5 separate regions of the Homo sapiens genome follow, and all the other regions are linked to region 4. Evidence: promoter capture Hi-C in 16 types of primary human blood cells and fetal thymus (Javierre and others, 2016). All regions are on one chromosome and are shown on one strand. The core of a region is centred on a gene start or on the middle of the fragment in contact, and the rest is flanking DNA. Distances in the headings are between cores, read along the strand shown. Region 1 overlaps CNIH4 (cornichon family member 4). Region 2 has its middle 66 kb from the start of WDR26. Region 3 overlaps TLR5 (toll like receptor 5). Region 4 holds the start of TP53BP2 (tumor protein p53 binding protein 2). Region 5 overlaps WDR26 (WD repeat domain 26).

Region 1 (2,700 bases), core at 138-2,637, 520 kb before region 4:
ATGTTCACCTCTAAAACACACAGGAATAATTTAAAACAGGACTATATAAGGCTTCCAATGTCTGACAGCCAATCTATCATATTAATTCTTACTTCCAGTGTGTTATAACTAGAAGACTGATACAACTTTACCATAATAGACATTTAGCATGCTGGAGAATGAGCATCACACCTAAATTACTTATTGCCAAGAAAGATCAGCACAATTTGGATAAAAGTTGCTGAGAGCTGCTGCTAGTGGTGTGATCCCCCAAAGACCATGAGTGGGATGGTCGCTGAGGCACATATATTAATGCTTATAACAGGCAGTGGAACTCCACAGCTGTATACTACTAGGGAAGGAAAAAAATATGAAACAGAGTTTCACTATTGTTGCCCAGGATGGAGTGCAATGGCGCGATCCTGGCTCACCACAACCTCTGCTTCCCAGGTTCAAGTGATTCTCCTGCCTCAGCCTCCCAAGTAGCTGGGATTACAGGCATGTGCCACCACGCCCACCTAATTTTGTATTTTTAGTAGAGTCGGTGTTTCTCCATGTTGGTCAGGCTGGTCTCGAACTCCCGACCTCAGGTGATCTGCCCTCCTCGGCCTCCCAAAGTGCTGGGATTACAGGCGTAAGTCACCGTGCCCTGTTTTAAGCATGTGGATAGCCTCAAAGCTAAGGCATAACTAAGATGCAACAGGGTAGATCTACTGTAGTTCAGACAGAAAGCTGATTCAATGACATACATAAATAATCTACACAGCCACAAGGAATTTACATAATCCCCGAAAGTTCCACAATGTCAATGCAAAATCCTATAGTATAGTAATATCTCACCCTTCAAAAACAAATATGGCATCTAGGAAAATACCAGGACTTTAAACTCACCTATAAAGATACATGAAGAAGCAGAGCAAGTGGAAACCAAGCTTGATCATGGCTTCTTTCATGTGTGACTTCAGCTGCCCTCGATTGTGTATTTCTGTTGGATCAAACACTCCCATGTTACCACTCGGCACCATAATGTATCTGATAAATTAAAGGATACACACATTAGAAGGATAATCAAATCATAGGCATAAGTATTCAAATATAAGTAGCCAATAATAATCGACTTTTAAAAGTGAACCAATCAGGCCCAGTACTGTGGCTCATGCCGGTAATCCCAGCACTTTGGCAGGCCAAGGCAGGTGGATCACCTGAGGTCAGGAGTTCAAGACCAGCTTGACCAACATGGTGAAACCCTGTCTCTACTAAAAATACAAAAATTAGCTGGGCATGGTGGCAGGCAACTGGAATTCCAGCTACTCGAGAAGCTGAGGCAGGATAATCACCTGAACCCGGAAGGCAGAGGTTGCAGTGAACCAAGATCGTGCCATTGAGCCCCAGCCTGGGTGACAGAGCAGAACTCCATCTCAAAAAAAAAAAAAAAAAAAGTGAGCCAATCATAGCAGCCTTAAATTCATACCACATATGTACAGAGTAGTATGATAATGTCATGGGCTGCCACTTAGTTTCCTTTTGAAAGTTATAATACTGTTAATCTTCTGCCCTGTAAAATAAATACAGTAACATTCCAGAAAAGGATATTTTATGCACTGAAACCCTTTTACTCATCTGTAGAAAACTACCATACCAGTCACATCTACAGCCCTTTTCCATTAGACAAAGGTTAAAGAAGGCTTCAAACCCAAACCAATTTTATTAAGTTCTTAGAAACTTCATTATGGAAACAGGGAAATTAAGGAAGTTAGGTTACTTTGAGAGGATCAATGAATTTAAGTGTCTGGGCTTCAACATCCAGACTGTGTCATCTGTGTAACATATATGTCCTAACCTAGCACTGTCCATGAATTCTTCCTGCTCTCACGTCTAAGCTTCTTCTAGTACAACCTTAGTTGTCACACAGCTTCTCAATTATCACTTCTTTGAAATGCAAAGGACTCTCTGAGTTCCACAAATCTGAAATTCTCCCTTAAAACCCCAGTAGCCCGACTATAGCTGAATAGAGGGTATTTTCATTTGAATATCCAGATAACATCTCATCCTTGTCTAATTTCTAGGTTATCTAATAAGAGTGTCACCATTTTCTTGGTGGTCCTTAAAAACTTCCTCTTACCCAACTGGGACTTCTCTCTTCCTCATCTTTCATAGCCAGTCCATCAAACCCTTGTCCAGTCTTTCTTCCTACCACCACTTACTTAGCTGTCTTTTTTTTCCTTTTTGTATTTTTGTTTTATTTTTAATTTTTGTGGGTACACAGTAGGTATATATATTTATGGGTTATATGAGAGATTTTGATACAGGCATGCAATGTGTACTAATCCCATCAGGGTAAGGCTGGGCACAGTGGCTCACACCTGTAATCCCAGCACTCCAGGAGGCCGAGGCGGGAGGATTGCCTGAGGTTGAGTTCAAGACCAACCTGACCAACATGGAGAAATCCCATTGCTACTAAAAATACAAAATTAGCCAGGCGTGGTGGCGCATGCCTGTAATCCCACCTACTCAGGAGGCTGAGGCAGGAGAATCGCTTGGACCCGGGAGACGGAGGTTGCAATGAGCCAAGATTGCGGTATCACACTCCAGCCTGGGCAACAAGAGCAAACCTCCGTCTCAAAAAAAAAAAAAAAAAATCACATCAGGGTAAACGGGGTATCCATTACCTCAAGCATTTATCCTTTGTGTTACAAACGATCCAGTTATACTTTTTTAGTT
Region 2 (2,700 bases), core at 41-2,540, 660 kb before region 4:
TTCTGGCTGCAATCTCACTCACACCACTTATTTTATCCCAGTAGATGTTTGTTTCGGCCCCTAATTTCCATTCCCTTGGGCCAGTAAAGTGACTTGATTCCCTCTGTTTCTGAGGACCCCAAGAAAACCAGGGCTTCACTCTCCGGGAGCCGTATCTGCAGCACTCCTGGGTTCTGCCCACAAGTGGTATCCTCAGGGAAGACCCCTCTGGGCAAACCATTCTGAACAAGGCCCAGAGGATCCTCTGCTCACCTGCCCTCCCCACATTCTTCAGCACCTCCCTCCAGTTGCTCATGAAGCCTCCAGGTCCTCTGCCCCTCCACCCTACCTTCCTCCAGCCTCCTCACCACAGAATCATCTCCAACAGGGACCCCTCTTCCAGGAAAGTAGCTGGTCACAAACAAATTTCTGTATAAAGCAGTGGCTCACGCCTGTAATCCTAGCACTTTGGGAGGCCGAGGCAGGTGGATTGCCTGAGCTCAGGAGTTTGAGACCAGCCTGGGCAACACAGTAAAACCCCGTCTCTACTAAAATACAAAAAATTAGCTGGGCGTGGTGGCACGCACCTGTAATCCCAGCTACTCCAGAGGCTGAGACAGGAAAATCGCTTGAACCTGGGAGACGGAGGTTGTAGTGAGCCGAGATCGCGCCACTGCACTCCAGCCTGGGCGACAGAGCGAGATTCCATCTCCAAAAAAAAAAAAAATTCTGTATAAAACATTATCATGATTAAGAACATGAACTCTGGGGTTAAAAAAAAAAAATATATATATATATATATATAGGTTCAAGCCTATGCTGCTGTCTGCTGAGCATGTGACCTTGGGCAATTCGCTTATATCACTCTAAGCTCCAGGACCCTCATCTGTAAACTGGATACAATAATAATAGTATCTGCCTCATGGTGCTGTTGTCAAGATTAAATGAGATTAAATAAAATTATGAGAAGAATTCTTTACAAAGTGCCTTTCACCCAGTAAGCTCTCAATAATGATAGTATTATTGCCCATGACCATTTATTCAACACTCTTAAACCCCTACAATGAACAAAGTATGACTCCGCCTACCTCAAGTGTCTTTCTGTTCAATATAGGAGTCAAATATACAAACAAGTGGACATAAAACAAAGCAGAATTAGTAAATGCACATGAGATAGAAACATGATATGCTTTAGAGAGTAGAGAGATGAAAAAAAAGATTACTGTTTCCAGAACAGAAGAGGCACAGCAGCAGAGGTGGCCCACGAGCAAGGCTTTGAAGCATAAGCAGGGCTCTGATCAGTGGAAGCAGATGGTAGGTTCCAGGAAGTGGCAGAAGGGGAGGCATGGAGATGTGATGGTGCAGGGTGTGTGGAATGCACAGATGCCGGCTGCTTCCTCGGGTTCCAGCCCCCCTTCTTCCATCCTAGCAGCCTCATTGTCCACTTAGGCATCCACTGCATTGTGGGGAGTCTTGAGGTCAAGGGAAATCGTGCAGCAGGTAGCCACTCAGCACATCCCAGCCCACTGGCGACTGGGGTTGGTGCAGGGGCAGATGTACGTCAGAAACAAGTCTACTCAGATTAAAGATCAGTCATGAATGCTGGGGAAAAGTCATTCTTTTTTTTTTTTCTTTGCTTTTTTGTCTCACTCTGTCGCCCAGCAGGTTGGAGTGCAGTGGCACAATCTCGCCTCACTGCAACCTCCGCCCCCTGAGTTCAAGCCATCCTCCCTCCTCAGCCTCCCAAGCAGCTGGGACCACAGATGCATGCCACCAAGCCTGACTAAGTTTTTGTATTTTTGGTAGAGATAGAGTTTCGTCATGTTGGCCAGGCTGGTTTCCAACTCCTGAGTTCAAGCTATCTGCCTGCCTCGGCCTCCCAAAGTGCTGGGATTACAGGCATGAACTGTTGCACCAGCCAAGTCATTCTTTCTTTAGAGACATGAGATGAAGGCTGCTGGCAACCATTTTGGGACCATGAGAATTAGGAAGAAATTGTGGCCAGGCACAGTGGCTCAGTTTGTAATCACAGCACTTTGGGAGGCTGAGGTGGGAGGATGACTTGAGACCAGGAGTTCAAGAGACCAGTCTGAGCAACATAAGGAGACACTATCTCTATAAAAAAAAAAAATTGTTTTAATTAGTCAGGCTTGATGGTGCAGGCCTGTAGTCCCAGCTACTAAGGAGGCTGAGGTGGGAGGATCACTTGAGCCCAGGAGGTCAAGGCTACAGTGAGCCATGATTGTGCCACTACACTTCAGCCTAGGAGACACAGTAAGATCCTGTCTCAAAAAGAAAAAAGAAAAAAGAAAGAAAGGAATTAGATCCTTGGGGAATTGTTGAGCCTTACCCAAAGCCCCACTCTGACACTAGATTTCTTTTTCTTTTCTTTTTTCTTTTTTTTTTTTTGGTAGAGATAGGATGTCGCTATGTTGCCCAGGCTGGTCTTGAACTCCTGGCCTCAAGCGATCCTCCTGCCTCAGCCTCCCAAAGTGCTGGGATTACAGGTGTGAGCCACAGTGCCCAGTCAGCTGACTCTAGACTTCTTTTGTCCCAGAAGCAAATAACGGCGTGTATTGTATAAGGCAGTTGAGCTATGCTTTTCAGTTTCTTGATGTTCAAAAAATGACCCGAAATAGAGAGTTATAAAAAATTGAAACTAGAAAGGTATTAGAGGGTTAAATCATGAAAGGCTTTCCTTGCCCCATTCTAAGGCATTAG
Region 3 (2,700 bases), core at 43-2,542, 710 kb after region 4:
CAGGCTATTCCTGGTAGGGTTCTGACATATACCTGCCCTGGACCAATGACTAGGGAGCTGGCTACAGAGGTGGAGGTGAGCCTAGGAAAGCAGAAATACAAGGAGAGGGGGAAAAAAAAGTCAAATCTCAAAATATCTAGCCGCAGACATAAGCTCCTCTGAGGGTAATTTCTTGAGGGGGGAAAAAGTTGCTATTTAAAGCTAGGATATATGTGGTTCCATTTTTTTCATCGGTACATTAATAACATCATTTTCCACTATGTATCTTCAAGATCCGGTGTAACAGCCTTGCAAATTTGCCAGAATGAAGAAGGAATGTTCTGCTTCAGGGAGGATTGGCCCTGGTCTATGATTGCTGTCATGATGATACTCAGCAAGTTTCCTTAGATAACTTCAGAGTTAACAAGGATTTAAAAATGCTTCCATTTCAAACTCACCGTTATACATATGCAGAAACTGAGGACAATGAAAGTTAGAGTTGTCTAGGATACCCAGACTGTGGCTGAAGGAGGACTAGAACCGATATTTATCCTCTCCCAGCCCAGCATTTTTGCCATGGTCTCATGTATCTCGAAAGTAACCACCACTAGCAAGTTGGAGCCAAATCAACTAGCTGACTCCCTGCCCTGACTCAGAATGGAGCATAGCCACCCTGGGCAGCCTGCCCAGGCAGATTCCACATGCAGTAAACCTCCTTCGGGTCCCAGGACACTGGGCACAGGGTGGGGACCTGTGCTTCCAGCAGGGGTGCGCTCCCCAGCCTCACCTGTCCCTGCTTACAGTCCCTCAGGCAACACCAGTGAAATCATCTTCCTCTCAGGGCATCCTCATCCTGGCCTGAGTGCCCCCCACCTTTCCTTCTCAACCTCTTCAGGGCTTACCTTGCATCAGGGGGTGTCTCCAGCAGCTGCAGGGTGCATTGGATTTTATCTGCCTGGGAAGCTTTCTCTTGATTCCTTTGCTAGCCCAGCACAGACTACACATCCCTCTCAGAACAGTTCTCAAGTGTTTGATACTCTCTCTTCACATTCCCATTTCGTATCTAACTGATCAGGTTAATAGGGTTCCTAGTTGCCGGTCACCACCCCCACCCCAGCTGTTTCCAATTTACATCACACTCCAAATGATTTTTGCAGCGCTTAGCAGATTGTCTGTGTCATTACTTTCAGGGATGCTATACTGGACTTCCCTACTCTCATCTGCTCCAGCCCCCTGACCTTATAGTTGCCCAGCTTTCCTGGCAATTGACTTTGCCCATCAATACACAGGATTTAGCATCCAGGGAAGATGTCGGAGCCTCAGATGTTAATTTTCTAATTGAGAATGTTGGCGCTGTCCGAACCTGGAGACAGGTAGGGATGTTCACTTTCTGGGCGAGCCACCTTTTCCCGACGATTTTAAATGTTGTGCTAGTTGTTCGTTTTTAATAATCACTAAAAATTATTTCTTTCAATCAGATGCTTTAAAATTGTGTGCTAAAGAGTTATAATGTGCAAACAACGGGGAAGCCATTCTGTACCTAAACCATGTGTTTTCAACATAACTTTTCAGAGTATCAGCGCCTTTGCTTGCTGCTGTTTTTGCTGTTTTTTGATGCTGGGAACCACCACCTAAAGATAGTAAAGAAAACACAGGAAGCTTTCCGGTAACTCATGCTAAAGAAACACAAAATCACCCCAGTGCCTTGAGAAATTTCCTTTCCCTCTCTAACTTTCCCCTTCAGTGTTCTAAAGGGAAGGCGTTTCTGGTAAGGTGTAGTTGCGTAAATGATGGCTGCCTACTTCAGCAAGCAAGAACTGTTGGAGTATTAAGCATGGGTAACTGGATATTCTGGTTTGGGCACTGGAGGATCCCTGGAAGCCGGAAGCAGGCTGTTGCTGCCGGGGTAGGGGCGGCGGGGGTGGGAGGTAGAAACTTATTGCTGTGATTTTATAGGCAGTAAACTGATGCTTAGAGAGGTTCAGCACTCGCCCAAGCTCACACACCTACTAAACTGTGGAGCTAGGATTTGAATCCAGCTACAAATTTAGTTGTCATTGAAATGTCTAAATGCACTCTACTGCGCAAGCGATAGGAACTTCCCAGCGGAGCTCAGCTCAGGGACGCTTGCAGCTCCCCGCGCCCCGCTCGACTCTCCGGCCGCGGCTCCGCGGGCTCCTCCCCCTCGGTCCCTGCCCCTTTTGCGCCCTCTGCTGGTCTCTAGGGAAAGCGCATCTCCTGAAATCAGAAGTCGCACCCAAGCTGTCCCGTTTCCTTAGCTCCTAGTAAAGCGATATGACCCATCCATCCCCTCCTCCTCAAAGCCTCACATGAATCTTCTTTGAGGTACTCTCTGATGCTTCACTCTTCAGCGCTGAGAAAAATGGGGAGGAAGGGGAAGTGAATGTATTAGTATAGCCCCTTCTCAAAACCAATCGTGCAGCATCTTAGCCATGCCTTATCCTGGAAGAACGAGGCAGCTCACGTGGGCATGGGGGTAATGAGCAGGGAGGCAATTACAGACTCTTAGGTTCTCACCGCTAACAGTGTGGTCAGTGGACCAGCAGCAGCATCACGTGGGAGCCCGTTAGAAATGCAGACTCTCAGGTCCTTCAGCCACAGCCCTGATGAATCAGAATCACCGTTTCAAGGAGGTCTCAGGCGGGCCGTTTCAGGTTCCGAGCTCGCTTTGAGGCTCTGTGGATGTTTTGCAGCATATTC
Region 4 (2,700 bases), core at 2-2,501:
CGTGAGCCACTGCGCCCGGGCGAGAACGTTAAATTCTAGTTGAATTAACCGTAATTTAGTATTTCCAGATACAGTATCTGGGATGGTGCAATAGGGAGTTCGATGGAGATTCTGGTAAGGGATATGGTGGGCTAAGAAAGAATTGTCTGTTCTTGATACTAGATAAACCCAGGGGATTTACCCCACTTCAGGTTCTAGAATCATGTATAAAGGCAGAGAAAAGTGATTCTGAGTGAACTTGCACTGACAACTTACTAGAACAAAGCTTCCTGGAGTTAGGGTTCCCGCAGTATGTGTCTCTCTGGAAGGTGGAATAAAAGCCTGAACCCGCTCTGCTACTCTTTGGAAGGCAGCCCTGCCATTTCCCTAGGCCTTGGCCTCCCTCCCTGGAAAAGGATGGTATCCACCGGCTCCCCGTATCGGAGGCTGTTTGCAGGGTGTTCCCAGCACCCCCCAGGGAAGCTCCTCAGAATGCTGCCTGACACATTTTTACAAAATTTATTTTTATTGTGGTAAAACATACACAACATAAAAGTTATCCCTTTATCCAGTTTGCGGTGTACGTTTGTTAACCTTACAGCAAGTAACACATGAGTTTTAAATTAGAATTTGGACAACGGCAAATGAGATGAAAGGCGAACAATCCGAAAGCCGGATCACTGAGGAGCTCTGGGAACGCGCCGCGAGCTGAAGCCACACGGGGAACTCCATTTTGTCGGGACAGGGTCGGTCCTGGCCGCCTCCAGGGAGTCGGGTAGTTTCCGCGGCGTGGCCCGGGCCTCCCCTGAAGTCCGTCCGCCTCTCTCCGCCTGGCCCAGCGGCGCGGCCGCCGGAGGACTCTGTCCACGCGCCCAACGTCGGGCGCCCTGTTCTGAAGGCAAAGGGTCCCCTGCCTCGCACGACTCGGAGCCGCCGAGGAGGTGACGGCGGCAGCCCTGGGGCGGCTCGGTGCCATTCACTACCATCCTGTTTTCCTGAGGCGCGGCCTTCCAATTGCCCCGGCTCCGCTAGGAGGCGCGCGCTCCAGCCGCTCCGCCGCGCGGCCCCGACCGCACTTCAGTCCGGGGCGAAGAAAGAAAAGGCGGCCGGCTCCCGCCGCTCCCCGTCTACCCAGCCGGGCCCGCGCAGGCGCGCGCAGCTCCCGTTCCCGCGGCCGCCCCTCCCCCAGGCCGCCGGGCGCGCCGCGGGCGGGGTCGGCGCGGGGGGCGGAGCCGGCACGGGCTCGGCTGGGGCCCGACCCGGGATTAGTTGGTTTCGGAGCGGAGGAGGGAGCCCCGACCGTCACGAGCGTCGAAGAGACAAAGCCGCGTCAGGGGGCCCGGCCGGGGCGGGGGAGCCCGGGGCTTGTTGGTGCCCCAGCCCGCGCGGAGGGCCCTTCGGACCCGCGCGCCGCCGCTGCCGCCGCCGCCGCCTCGCAACAGGTCCGGGCGGCCTCGCTCTCCGCTCCCCTCCCCCGCATCCGCGACCCTCCGGGGCACCTCAGCTCGGCCGGGGCCGCAGTCTGGCCACCCGCTTCCATGCGGTTCGGGTCCAAGATGATGCCGGTAAGTGGGCGAGCGGCCAGGGCGTCGGGCCCGGAAGTGTGCGGGGTCGCGTGCCGGGGGCTGGTCCGCGCCCTCGGGCGCGTCGGGGAAGGAGCCTGGGGGCCGCAGCCCGCGCGGAGGGGCCGGGGCTTTCCGAGCTTCGAGCGGGTTTCAGGAAGGGGAGGCTCCATCCTCTGGGCTCTGCGCCCACAGCCGTCGTGGGGGCGCGGCGAGACCCTAACCTCGAGGCGGGTTCCTCCAGCTGCTCCGGAGTCAGGCGAGCCGCCCGCGAGCCCAGCAGCCACTCAAACTTTTCGTCTTTCACTGGGTCTTGACTTTTTTGCAGTTCTTGAAGGTCAAGAATACGGGAACCGGGGACCTTGTTCTTTGCTGTGTCTTTTTACTTTTTACTGGAGTGAAACATACGTTACTGGAACGGGTACCTTTGCTTTGTTTTTAATTGAATTTCGATCTTGATATCCACAGTAGCAGCTAAGTCACCCTTACCTCTTTGTGGAAAGGGGTTTTGGTAAATGCAATCTCGGAAGTTTTAGATTGCAGGAAAGCGTACGTGCCTGGCTCCCTTCGTTTCCCACAGCTTTTAGCAAGACCTCCGGAGAGGATTAGTGCCTTCTTTAGGAGCTCCGCAGGCTTTTGACACGGCCACCAGGCCACAGATGAACAGCAGGTTTGAGACATTTCAGAAATGTCTCTGTCATTCAGCGATCGCGGAATGGAGGTTTGCGGTGTGTTGCGGTGGCTTCTGCAGACTTCAGTAGCGAGTTTCTTCGTGGAAGTTGTATTTGCACCTCTCCCACTGAAGTGGGGACATCTTGCAGGCATCCTATGCTTGTGGCTCCATTTGTTCAGACAAAGAAACAAAAAGCTTTTACTTTTATGAAGTCTGTGGAATGGAGTGATGACAAAGTTTGCAGTCATACATACAGAGTATAATATGCTGTTCCCTGGCCCCCTGCTTGTGTCATGGAGGGCGTCCCAAACTCTCACTGGGTCGACTTAACAATTCACTAGAATTAGTAATTGGGTTTAGAGGGTTTGGGATATTTTGTCCTGCCAGGATTCAAGGAATTTGAAAGTATTAATAGCATTATGCATCTTATTTTAGTTTAATGCCTGGTTATGAAATCAGGTTTGTAGTGTGAATACCCAATATTGA
Region 5 (2,700 bases), core at 84-2,583, 540 kb before region 4:
TTACAGACATACTTAAACTGGGATTAAAACCTCATAGTCATTTTTCTTAATTGCCCTTAATATTTTGACATATAGGGATACATAAATTTAAAGAATATTTTTTCTCAGTTTTTTCAGATATTGCCATACTGAACCTCATTCTAAACTGGTGCTGTGGATAGTCTTTCCCTCTCCCCTCCTGTTTTAGTTTAAGGAAAGGTTTCCTTCATGGAAAAGCACTTTTAATTTTGAGAATTTCACATTTAAAATAAGCCAAAAGCCTGATGTTCACATTGTGCTTTTAAACTCCGTAACAGCTGAATACAACATAACATAGTCTCCCTTGAAATTCCCTCCCTTTTTCAGTAGAGGATAAATAGGGTGACTCCAGCTGTTGGAATGAGAATGGGGATACCCCCAAAATAAGATTCTGGTGAAGAAAAAGTCTTGTACTAAGTTCCCCTTTAGGTGTAGCCAAGTCTATAATATAATTATGATCATGAATAGACTCCAGAATCCACAAAGAGAAGAGGGCTTGGATGTCAAAAATTCTTCCATTGTGGGGTAGGTGGTCGGGGATGGGAGAAAGGGAAAAGTCAGGGAAGGGGAGAAGAAAGAAAAACACATTTGGCCTTAAAATAGCATGCATTCTCCCAGAAGCCCATAGTAAAGAAAATGACAGATCGTGGTCAGCAGACTCTTATCAAATTGGTATGTAAAAGATTTCTTCAAGCTCCATTTTGCAGAGACCACCACTTAGAGAATCAAAAAATTCCTGTTTTGATACTTCTAAGTTAAAATATATGTTACAGTTTATCTGGTACTTCATTTTTCTTAACTAAAATTACTTTTTACTTTAAGCTTGAATAAAAATCTTCATTGGTAACTGTATGTAATTAAGTGGCAACTTCTCTTTACCTCAGTATAGTTAAAAACCATTCATATTTTAAGTGATTCATGTATACCCTGAAGCCGTTAATACACCCCAGTCTCTATGGTAACATCACTAAATGTGGGCATAGAAACTCCACAGCTGTTTACAAATTTGGTTACAGTGTGCTACGGTGCATTTGTAACACTCAGATTTGTGCCCATTCAGGGGCAATTTGGCACTCAGATTCTACTCTACTTCACCTAACCACCCCTAGATCTGAGTTTTCAGAGTGCTTCTGAAGTACAGTTTAAAAACACTTTTTAAAAAGTGGAGTAAAAGTGAGGCACATTTTACAAGAACATAACTCCTATTAAAACGGAGTAACAACTATGCAAAGGTTTCTATAGCAGCTAGGTGAGTTTGTTTTCCGGGTCTGTCTTAACTGGCAGCTTCCTGTACATACTGGTACTTATTTGCTGTAAACGTCTGTTTCATACATTTGCCATGCAGTGACTGTGCTCGAAAGGTGAAATCAATGGTAAAGAAGCCTAGGATTTTATGGTATGAGAAACTGATCGCAGGATTTTCTGATCCATAGCTATTAATTGAAAACTTCTGATAGTGCTGTAGGCTCTATAGTAGGCTTAAGAGTGAGTCTTATACTATGAAGCCAGCCACAAGATACTAACAAATGTATAAATTGAAAAGTACCAATACTTTTTGCACATAGATCAAAATAGAGTGGAGAATTTGGGCTCCAAAAATCAGGTTAGTAGGCTCATTTCCATGTGCTTAAAAATGTTTTTGTTGTTATGCATTGATTAAGGGCTAGAGCAAATATAAAATTAAATGTCTTTTTCCTCCAAATAATTGGTTATTAATGGTAAAATGTTGGACTTGGGGATTACTGAGATTAGTATGTGGGTAGTAAAGAATTGGAGTGGGAGTTAGTGGGGAGGGATGACAAAGCTTCAGCTTTGGTTTTTGTATTTTTTTAGTCTTCATAACAGCTACATTTCTGTTGCTCTTATTGGCCAGATAAATGTGTTATATTAAACCAGGTAAGTATTTTAAACAGAGAACATTTTATTTGCATATATCCCTACAAATTGGCCCATTTTATTGGGTGGGGGGATAAAAAAGGGATTCCCTAACTTTAAATAATCAGAATATCCTGCAATTGAAAGGAGAAAAAAATCCAATTTTGTCAGTATTTTCTTAGTCTGAAAAAAACAGCAGTAGTAATCTGGTGAATGTTATTATTAGGAGTGTTCTGCCTCTACAGTGGCATATTCCATGACATTAATAGAAAACCCTTCTTTCCCACCCCTCCCCATCTTGACATTTTCTTTTTTAGGATGTTGGTTCCTGCAAACAAGAACTGACCCTATCACCTCTGCCTCACAGTGGGTAAATATATCATACATCTCTTGAAAGGGAAAATATCCATGTCAGTTTCTTTCACAGTAGAAGAATGGCTGCTTTTGAATGGGGAGGAAAGAAGACATTTTTCTTAATATCCTTTTTGTCCCATCTCTAAAATGTATAAATATTTTGATTTGGTTTTACTTTAATTTCTCATTCATAATTTCGCAACTGTCCTTTTGGGTTGCCCTCCAACACATTACTTCCATTTCAGAAACCATATCTGATTTAATATAAACTGCTAACTTAAGAAGAGGTGAATTTGCATTTACACTTAGACACTTTCTAAAAACAGGGTGAACTTAATTGAAATTTTTCAGTGTTGTTAAGCTATTGTTATAGTAGCTGCCCTATAGTTACAAAAATAAAAACTATAAAAACCCATCCCCTATCTACTTAATCCAGATAGCCTGGATTTAACA

The links. The method cuts DNA at HindIII sites, captures the fragments that hold promoters and counts their contacts. A CHiCAGO score of 5 or more calls a contact.
Region 1: a contact is called between a fragment that was not itself captured here and the fragment with the promoter of TP53BP2 in region 4, in 1 of 17 cell types (naive B cells). The highest score is 6.8, in naive B cells.
Region 2: a fragment that was not itself captured here is called in contact with the fragment with the promoter of TP53BP2 in region 4 in 1 of 17 cell types (erythroblasts); the score reaches 5.1 in erythroblasts.
Region 3: a contact is called between a fragment that was not itself captured here and the fragment with the promoter of TP53BP2 in region 4, in 1 of 17 cell types (fetal thymus). The highest score is 8.1, in fetal thymus.
Region 5: a fragment that was not itself captured here is called in contact with the fragment with the promoter of TP53BP2 in region 4 in 3 of 17 cell types (monocytes, activated CD4 T cells and total CD8 T cells); the score reaches 6.3 in monocytes.

The regions. Positions count from the first base shown.
Region 1 is chr1:224,369,594-224,372,293 of GRCh38, reverse strand. It overlaps CNIH4 (cornichon family member 4), which reads right to left. Exons shown (of 5, transcript NM_014184.4): 4 at 871-1,011. Among named protein-coding and RNA genes, the nearest start is that of CNIH4, 14 kb to the right of the region's middle. The HindIII fragment of the contact is 948 bases long and covers 914-1,861 here.
Region 2 is chr1:224,499,590-224,502,289 of GRCh38, reverse strand. It overlaps a transcript of CNIH3 not described here. Among named protein-coding and RNA genes, the nearest start is that of WDR26, 66 kb to the right of the region's middle. RefSeq lists enhancers at 1,047-1,547, 1,548-2,048. The HindIII fragment of the contact is 3,572 bases long and covers 1-2,700 here.
Region 3 is chr1:223,133,334-223,136,033 of GRCh38, reverse strand. It overlaps TLR5 (toll like receptor 5), which reads left to right. Exons shown (of 6, transcript NM_003268.6): 4 at 1,170-1,352. Among named protein-coding and RNA genes, the nearest start is that of TLR5, 8.6 kb to the left of the region's middle. The HindIII fragment of the contact is 696 bases long and covers 945-1,640 here.
Region 4 is chr1:223,844,498-223,847,197 of GRCh38, reverse strand. It overlaps TP53BP2 (tumor protein p53 binding protein 2), which reads left to right and starts at 1,251. Exons shown (of 18, transcript NM_001031685.3): 1 at 1,251-1,544. The coding sequence starts at 1,518. RefSeq lists a silencer at 1,114-1,423. The HindIII fragment of the contact is 2,144 bases long and covers 268-2,411 here.
Region 5 is chr1:224,386,013-224,388,712 of GRCh38, reverse strand. It overlaps WDR26 (WD repeat domain 26), which reads left to right. Exons shown (of 14, transcript NM_001379403.1): 14 at 1-2,700. Among named protein-coding and RNA genes, the nearest start is that of MIR4742, 11 kb to the left of the region's middle. The HindIII fragment of the contact is 982 bases long and covers 843-1,824 here.